2 separate regions of the Homo sapiens genome follow, and region 1 is linked to region 2. The links are contacts of gene promoters, found by promoter capture Hi-C in blood cells and fetal thymus (Javierre and others, 2016). All regions are on one chromosome and are shown on one strand. Each heading gives the region's core, a stretch centred on a gene start or on the middle of the fragment in contact. The rest is flanking DNA. Distances are from core to core; before and after follow the strand shown. Region 1 holds the start of LZTS3 (leucine zipper tumor suppressor family member 3). Region 2 has its middle 10 kb from the start of OXT.

Region 1 (4,609 bases), core at 2,062-4,561, 110 kb before region 2:
GGTGATCCACCTGCCTTGGTCTCCCAAAGTGCTGGGATTACAGGTGTAAGCCACCATGCCCAGCCCAATTTTTAAATTTTTTTGTAGAGACAGGGTCTCCCTATGTTGTCCAGGCTGGTCTTGAACTCCTGGGCTCAAGCCATCCTCCTGCCTCGGCCTCCTAAAGTGTTGAGATTATAGGCGTGAGCAACGATGCCGGCCACCAGAACCTTTTTTGGACATATTTCTTGGATGATGTTTTTAATATCTTTGTTATCCTTGTAATTTTATTTCCCAGAAAATGAGCCCCTTTATCAAGGTTTTCAGGGCCGGGCACGGTGGCTCAGTTCTGTAATCCCAGCACTTTGGAAGGTGGAGGAGGGTGGATCACTTGAGGCCAGGAATTCGAGACCAGCCTGGCCAACATGGCGAAACACTGTCTCTACTAAAAATACAAAAAATTAGCTGGGTGTAATGGTGCACGCCTGTAATGCCAGCTACTGAGACTGAGGCAAAAGAAGCACTTAAACCCGGGAGGCGGAGGTTGCAGGGAGCCAAGATCATGCCACTGCACTCCAGCCTGGGTGACAGAGCAAGACTCTCTCAAAAAAAAACAACTTGTGTGATCATTAATCAGCAGGTGACAAATCATCTTAAGCAACAACAAAACAAAACAAAACAAAGTATTGATTAGTTCACTGAACTGATGAACCTAGATACAAATAGTCTAATCTCAGCACTTTGGGAGGCCGAGGCGGGCGGATCTCAAGGTCAGGAGTTCGAGACCAGCCTGACCAACATAATGAAACCCCGTCTCTACTAAAAATACAAAAATTAGCCCGGCGTGGTGGTGGCACATGCCTGTAATCCCAGCTACTCAGGAGGCTGAGGCAGGAGAATTGCTTGAACCCAGGAGGCGAACGTTGCAGTGGGCTGAGATTGCACCATTGCATTCCAGAGGGAGACTCCATTTCAGAAAAAAAAAAAAAAAAAAAAAAAAAAAAAGTCTAGTTCATAGTTGCTCTGAAAGAAAGGAAGGGGATTGCATTAGTTATTCATTCAATAGTTACACACTATGCTAGAGTTTGTGTAAATTTTAAGTGAGACTCTGTCTCAAAAAAACAAAAAAGTTTTCATATGCATTGGACCAGAGTCAGATATAGATAGTATTCTCTTATTTTCCTGGTGTTCTTTTAAAGATGCAAAACCACATTAGTCTATGAAATAGGAATGGAGACTACAAAGAGAGATTAAGTTGAGATCAAGACAGAGGTGGAATGGAAATTGGCTGAAAGAAAAATAAAACAAGCAGAATCAAATGTCTTATTGGAGAAAATAAACAGTACTCTTGGCTCTGAAGAAAATTAAATCCGTAATGGTGAAGAAAAACTTGATATAGTCTCCCAGGGTGCAGAGAAAACAAACAGATTTATTTGACATTGGTGATCCAATGTGATAGTTTTAGAGGAGAGGAAAGAAAAAAACCCAAATCTTTTCACAGAATGGACAGGAAGAAAACTTTTCTAAGCTACAAAGAAGACCTCTTTTGTTTCTGGAAAATTAATAGATAAGGCCCATATTGATTTATACTGGCAAAATGTTTGACTTTTGAGGGTAAAGAAAAACCCTTGCAAGCACCAAGCAAACTGCTGACCTTAAACAGACAAACCCAGCTTTGCATTTTCAGTGCCAGAAGACAATGAAATAAAGACAAGAGTTTTGAGGGGGAAAGCTTGAGACTCAAGAATCCTATAAACAGGAAATCATTATAAAGGCATTCTCACCTAAGGCAAAGGCTTAGGAAATACAACATTCCAGAGTCCTCCCTGAAATCACCAGTCATGTGAGAGATGGGTCCAAATGAGGAATAGAAAAATTAGAGCACAAAAAACCGGCAGTAACATTGAAACCAATTAAACAGAGTTGGCAAAAGCCAAAAACAAGGATTGAAAAAGAATGTTGTGGCTTAAAAAAAAAGTGTAAACAAAAGTTAGGTCTGTCGTCCTGATTAAGTGGACAAATATAAGTAGTGAGGGCGGCAGGTAGGAGGCAGAAAAGCACACAAAATTTCTCATGGGGGAATATAAAAACGAATTATTTGTCACTGACTTTACTAATGTGTGAAATGTAAACTATTTTCATTTGATAAATCTAAAGGCAGCCGCGAGAAGAATTAAAAATACTTTCTGCCTTGAAAATCACGATAGAAGATAAAAGCAAATGTGGGAAAATTCAGAAAACAGGAATAAATAAAAACTATAGAATACGAAGTCGTAAGACCAAACACAACACCTATAAACAGCAGAGACGTAATGCGTTAAATCCCAGCCAGAGCAGAGGCGCTGCAGTTCTTAGGGCAGACCCTGGTGCCTCCAGGCTTTTGCTAGTGCTAAACTCTCGGCTAGGCTTGCCTCCCTACCCTATTCAAGGCTGAGGCCTCAATTCAAGGCCGACTCCCTCCTCCCGGCAGTCCTCCCGGGCCGCCCTAGGCTGAGTGAGCACTCCCCACAGTGAACGCTGCCCGCGCGGGCGAGGCCGGCGCTCCGGGTCCGGTACGAAGTCCCACCTCACTCCCTCTCACCCCGGGTTACAGCGTGTGGTCTGGGGCCACGCGTTACGCCAGGCGCGGGGCACAGGGTGAAAGCGTTCAATCCTGCTGGAGTGTAATGTGTATTTTTTCCCCGTCGCACCTTCCAGACGGTGATCCAGTGTGAGCAGCAAGTTTCAAATCGTCTCCGTTTGGTCACGAACGGAGTTTACTGCCCCTCGACGCCTCCCGCACGACAGCCCGTGGTCCTCGCGCCCGGGCGGGTCGTTGCTCGGCCGGGCGGATCCACCCGCGACGGCTCGTCCCGACCCCTCCCTAGCGGACTTGCAAGGTCTCAGGGCGTCCGCTGGGAGGCCGCGTCCCGAAGAGCTGGCGCGGGAGAGGAATGGGGCTCGGGGCTCCGAGTCGGGAGCCCCTTCCCCCAAGCAAGAGGGGCTCCTCCTCCTCTTCCTAGACGTGGGATTCAGGGAGGGCGCGGTTCCATTGGATTTGTTGCAGAGGAACGACTGGGCCTGAGCCCAAGCCCAAGGGCCTGGGGGGTAACGAGCGATGAGCAGAGGGGCTCGCGGCGGACTTGCTGCGCCCTAGAGAGGGTGAGGCTGAGGGGTCCCACGCGCGGGCGGGGCGCAGCGACGAAGGGGTTAAGGCGCCTCACCCCGCCCCAGCCCGGGCATTGGCTGCCCTGGGGGGCGTGGCCGGAGGGCGGGCTCGCGTTTGCCGCAGCCGCTGGTGGGCGGGGCTCGGGCGGGGAGCAGGAGGGGCGCGGAGCGGAGCCGGGCCCGCGCAGCGCGCCCCGCCGGGCGTGCTTCGGGCTGCGCCAGCAAGCGGGGCCGGTGGCGCCCGTGTCGGAGACCCCGCGCCGGACCCTGAGGCAGCGAGTAAGTGAGGCAGGCCCATCGTGGCATCCCTCCCGGCTCCGACCTGCCGCCGTGCCTGCTGCACTGCGCGGCATGTCTGACCTGACCCGGACTGGGTAGGGGGCGCGTCCCGCTGCTAGGGTCCCAAGGGGGAGGGGAGCGGAGAGGAGGCGGATGATGTCATGGATGCTTCGCCCGGCCTGGGGGGAGGTGGCGGCCAGAGGGGGTGCGGCTCGGATTATGTCACCTCTTCCCTCTGCGCCCCGCCCCCCGGGGCCACACGCGTTGGTGGGGAGCCTGGGGAGGTGCGGGCGGGGTTTCCCCCATCGCAGGGACTCCCAGGTCCTGTGGCCTGTGGCTGGGGTCTCTATCAGTTGGCTCTGCGGGCCGTGGGCTGCTGGTGAATGGCGACCCCCCCTCCCACCCCCAGCAGAAGCTCGTGTGTGCGCGCGTGTGTGTGCTCGGGGTGGAGGGGGCGCTCTCGGCCCCCTCAGTCCTGAAACACTGGCTTCATCAGAGCCAGTAGCTAGGTGATGGGCCCATTCCGCTGCCAGTGCTTAGGCCACCGAGGGAAGACGGATCTCCCCTCACTCATCCCAACCAAGAAGTTCTGGATATCTCTGCACCCCAAAAGCCCTGCAGTGCCCCCAGATCCCTTTCCTCCCTCAGTCCTGCTTCCTGGAAACCCCTCCTGCTCTCCCTGCCCGGATTCACTGCCTCTTTGCATTGCCCATAACTAGCATTCCCACAGGCATTTGCCCTGCATTTCCTTGGTGCAGGGCCCAGAGACCCCCAGGACTCTGCCCTCTGTGCTCCTGGGAAACCTATAGGCCAGCCCTGGGGAGGCCTCAGAGTGAAATCTCCCTGGGGTGTCCTCAGCCAAGTGCTCCAAGATGCCCCCTCTGGGGGGTGGAGATCAGGGATGCTGTCCTGAGGCCAGCCTTTGAACTGGTCTAGAAGCATGTAGGATGGGCACAGAGAGCTGGCAAGAGCTTGTGTGTGAAGTAGAGAGGGGCTCAGGTCAGGGTAGATAGAGGAGGGGCATCAGGAGAGTCCTTGGGGACCCTGCTGCAAGCTCTGCTCTGGTTCTGGGGACCAAGAGGAATACCAGGCATTTCACCCATCATACATTTACTTCTTAAAATGCCTGCAATGTAGGTGTGAGAACCCGAGGTGAAATAACCTGCATGAGGTTGCACCCCTAATCAGTCAAGCTGGGATTTAC
Region 2 (4,411 bases), core at 1,890-4,389:
TTCTCAATGAGCTGTTGGGTACACCTCCCAGACGGGGCGGCGGCCGGGCAGGGTATTTATTTATTTATTTTTTGAGATGGAGTCTCGCTCTGTCACCCAGGCTGGAGTGCAGTGGCCCAATCTTGGCTCACTGCAAGCTCCGCCTCCCGGGTTCACGCCATTCTCCTGCCCCAGCCTCCTGAGTAGCTGGGACTACAGACGCCTGCCACCACGACTGGCTAATTTTTTTTGTATTTTTTAGTAGAGATGGGGTTTCACCGTGTTAGCCAGGATGGTCTCCATCTCCTGATCTTGTGATCTGCCCGCCTTGGCCTCCCAAAGTGCTGGGATTATAGGTGTGAGCCACTGTGCCCGGCCTTTTATTTTATTTTTTAGAGACAGAGTCTCACTTTGTTGCCCAGGCTGGAGTACAGTGGCACGATCATAGCTCACTATAACCTCCAACTTCTAGGCTCAAGCATGCGTGTCTTCTTTTGAGATATCTATTCAGATCCTTTGGCCACTTTTTTTTTTTTTTTTTTTTTTTTGAGACAGTCTCGCTTTGTCACCCAGGCTGGAGTGCAAAGGCATGATCTTGGCTCACTGCAACCTCTGCCTCCCAGGTTCAAGCAATTCTCCTGCCTCAGCCTCCCGAGTAGCTGGGATTACAAGCGCACACCACCAGGCCCGGCTAATTTTTTGTATTTTTAGTAGAGACGGGGTTTCACCCTATTGGCCAGGCTGGTCTCAAATTCCTGACCTTATGATCCGCCCACCTCGGCCTCCCAAAGTGCTGGGATTACAGGCGTGAGCCACCGCGCCCAGCCCTTTGCCCACTTTTTACTGGGATTGTTTATGTTTTTGCTGCTGAGTTGTTTGAATTCCTTGTATATTCTGAATATTAGCCCCTTGTCAGATGAATGGTTTGTAAAGATTTCCTCCTGTTCTACAGGTTGTTTCTGTTGATTGCTTCCTTTGCTGTTCAGAAGCTTTTTAGTTGACTGTATTCCCATTTGTCTATTTTGTTGTTGTTGTTGTTGTTGACTGTGCTTTTGAAGTCTTAGCCATAAAATCTTTACCTGGACCAACGTCCTGAAGTGTTTTCCCTATGTTTTCTTCTAGTAGATTTATAGTTTCAGGTCTTATGTTTGTCTTTAAGCCATTTTGAGTTGAGTTTTGTACATTGTGAGAGATAGGGGTCTAGTTTTATTCTTCTACCTATGGATATCCTGTTTTCCCAGCATCATTTATTAAAGAGGATGTTCTTTCCCCAGTGTTTGTTCATGATGCCTTTGTCAAAAATCAGTTGACTGTAAACACATGGATTTATTTCTGGATTCTCCAGTCTGTTCTATTGGTCTGTGTCTATTTTTATACCAATAGCCTGCTGTTTTGATTACTACACCTTTGTAGTAAATTTTGAAGTCAGGTGGTGTGGTACCTCTAAGCTTTGTTCTTTTTGCTCATTATTGCTTTGGCTATTAAGTATCTTTTGTGGTTCCATACAAATTTTCAGATTGTTTTTTCTATTTCTGTGAAGAATGTCATTGGTATTTTGATAGGGATTGCACTGAATCTGTGGATTGCTTTGAGTAGTACAGTCATTTAACAATACTCTTCCAATCCATGAGCATGGGATGCCTTTCCATTTGTTTGTATCCTTTTCAATTTTTTTTCTTTTTTTTTTTTTTTTTGAGATGGAGTCTTGCTCTGTCGCCCAGGCTAGAGTGCAGTGGCACGATCTCGGCTCACTGCAACCTCCGCCTCCCAGGTTCAAGGAATTCTCCTGCCTCAGCCTCCGGAGTAGCTGGGACTACAGGCGCCTGCCACCACGCCCGGCTAATTTTTTATTTATTTTAGTAGAGATGGGGTTTCACCATCTTGGCCAGGCTGGTCTCGAACTTCTGACCTTGTGATCCACCCGCCTCAGCCTCCCAAAGTGCTGGGATTACAGGTGTGAGCCACGGCGCCCGGACTTCAATTTTTTTTTATCAGTGTCTTATAGTTTTCATTGTAAAGGCCTTTCACTTAATTATTAGTAATTAAGTTTTGGGGGGGTCAAACGTTATATGTGAATTTTCTAGTGTGCAGGGTTTTGGCATCCATAGCCTCCACATTCTTCAAGGATCAACTGTATTTTGTTGAGGATTTTTGCATCTATGTTTATCAGGTATATTGGCCTGTAGTTTTCTTTTGTTGTTGTGTGTGTCCTAGTCTGGTTTTGGTGTCTGGGTAACGCTGGCCTCATAGAATGAGTTAGAAAAAAATTCTCTTCAATTTTTAGGAATAGTTTGAGAAGAATGGGTGTTAGTTCTTTATAAATTGGTAGAATTCCACAGTAAAGCCATCTGGTCCTGAGCTTTTCTCTGTTGAGAGACTTTTAATTATTGATTCAATGTGGTTACTCATCATTGATCTCTTCAGGTTTTCTATTTTTTTCCTGGTTCAATCTTGGTAGGTTGTTTGTGTCCAGGAATTCATAGATATCCTCTAGGGTTTCCAATTTGTTAGTGTATAGTTGTTCATAATAGTTTCTAATGATCCCTTGTATTTCTGTGATATCAGTTGTATGTCTCCTTTCTCATTTCTAATTTTATTTGGGTCTTCTCTCTTTTTTTCTAGGTTAGTCCTGGTAGTGGCTTATTGATTTTTTTTTTTTTTTTCTCACACACCAAGCACAGGTTTGTGGATTTTGTTTATATTTTTTAAAAAACAAGTTTTTATTTCATTGACCCTTTGTTTCCCTTTTTTAGTCTCTATTCTGTTTAGTTCTGCTCTGATCTTTATGTTTCTTTCCTTTGGGTTTGGTTTATTCTTGCTTTTCTAGCTCCTTGAGGAGCATCATGAGGTTGTTTACTTGAAGTCTTCCTACTTTTTTTGATGTAGGCATTTGTTGTTATATAGTAGGCTATTAATGACTGTTCCAATAATTTTGGCTTCCAAATGATTGGAAACTGAAAGCATGCAAGGCCGGTGTGGTGGCTCACACCTGTAATCCCAGCACTTTGGGAGGCAGAGGCAGGCAGATCACCTGAGGTCAGGAGTTCAAGTACAGCCTGGCCAACATGGTGAAACCCCGTCTCTACTAAAAATACAAAAATTAGCTGGGTGTGGTGGCGGGTGCCTGTAATCCCAGGAGGCAGAGGTTGCAGTAAGCCAAGATCGCACCATTGCACTCCAGCTTGGGCAACAAGAACGAAACTCCGTCTCAAAAAATAAATAAATAAATAAATAAAAGCATGCAGGATATCAGTCACTTATAACAGTCATTTTTTCCCCAATTTTATGGAATTGCATGGAATTTTTTTTTCATCTATTCATTTTCAGTCTATGTGTGTCTTTACGGGTGAAGTGAATTTCTGATAGGCAGCATACAATTGGGTCTTTTTTTTTTTTGGACAGGGTGGTGGTAACAGCAATCTGTTTGGGCCAGTCCCCAGGCCCCTGGGTGGCGTGCTGGTACTGACTGGCAGCAGCAGGCTGGGTGGGCCAGTGCCTGGGCCTCTGGGAGATGCACACAGGAATCAGTGGTAGGCAAGGTGGACCTGTCCTTGGGCTCCTGGACAGTGTGCATGTGTGGCATGCACACCAGTGGCAGTGAAGTGGGTGGATCAATCCCTAGGTCTCTGGACAGTACACATGGACGGCAGCAGTAGGTGGGGTGAGCCCATCCTCAGGTCCCTGGAAGGCGTGCATGTGTGCTGACAGTGCAGGTCAACCCCCAGACCCCTGGATGACATGCATGGGTACTAGCATTGACATCAGTAGGTAGGGTGGGACCCTTAGGCCCCTGGATGGTGCACACGGGTGGTGATGGTGGTGGGCTGGGCAGATTGAATCTCAGGCCCCTGGATGATGTGCACAGGTGCTGGCAGCAATGGTGGTGGTGAAGGGCAGGGCAGGCCTGTTTTCAGCCCCCCAGATGGTGTGCATGGGCACTGGCAGTGGCAGATAGGATGGATTGATCCCCAGGCCCTGGAAGGCATGCTCGGGCACCAGTGGCAATGGTGGTGGGCAGGGCGAGCCTGTCCTCAGATGTCCTCTGCACCTGCAACCGATGTGTGGGCTATTTCCACACAGCCAGTGGAGTGGGAGAGAATGGTAGCCCCACCAAAGAAAAATAATTCATGACCAGTATTTTTTCAGTTTTTTTCCCCCAGCTTTATTGAGGTATAATTGACAAATAAAAATAGAGTATACTCAGCCGGGCACGGTGGCCCACGCCTGTAATCCCAGCACTTTGAGAGGCCAAGGTGGGCGGATCACTTGAGGCCAGGAGTTCAAGACTAGCCTGGCCAACATGTTGAAACCCTCCACTAAAAATACAAAAATTAGCTGGGCATGGTGGTGGGCGTCTGTAATCCCAGCTACTTGGGAGGCTGAGGCAGGAGAATTGCTTGAACCTAGGAGATGGAGGTTGCAGTGAGCCGAG

Evidence for each region. The method cuts DNA at HindIII sites, captures the fragments that hold promoters and counts their contacts. A CHiCAGO score of 5 or more calls a contact.
Region 1: the fragment with the promoter of LZTS3 here is called in contact with a fragment that was not itself captured in region 2 in 2 of 17 cell types (naive CD4 T cells and naive CD8 T cells); the score reaches 6.0 in naive CD4 T cells.

What each region holds. Positions count from the first base shown.
Region 1 is chr20:3,172,251-3,176,859 of GRCh38, reverse strand. LZTS3 (leucine zipper tumor suppressor family member 3) reads left to right here and starts at 3,311. Exons shown (of 5, transcript NM_001365618.1): 1 at 3,311-3,405. LOC107985414 (a long non-coding RNA gene) reads right to left here and starts at 3,170. Exons shown (of 2, transcript XR_001754477.2): 1 at 2,670-3,170. RefSeq lists a silencer at 3,088-3,427. The HindIII fragment of the contact is 3,672 bases long and covers 1,714-4,609 here.
Region 2 is chr20:3,058,947-3,063,357 of GRCh38, reverse strand. No RefSeq gene overlaps it. Among named protein-coding and RNA genes, the nearest start is that of OXT, 10 kb to the left of the region's middle. RefSeq lists enhancers at 3,242-3,741, 3,742-4,243. The HindIII fragment of the contact is 3,419 bases long and covers 1,430-4,411 here.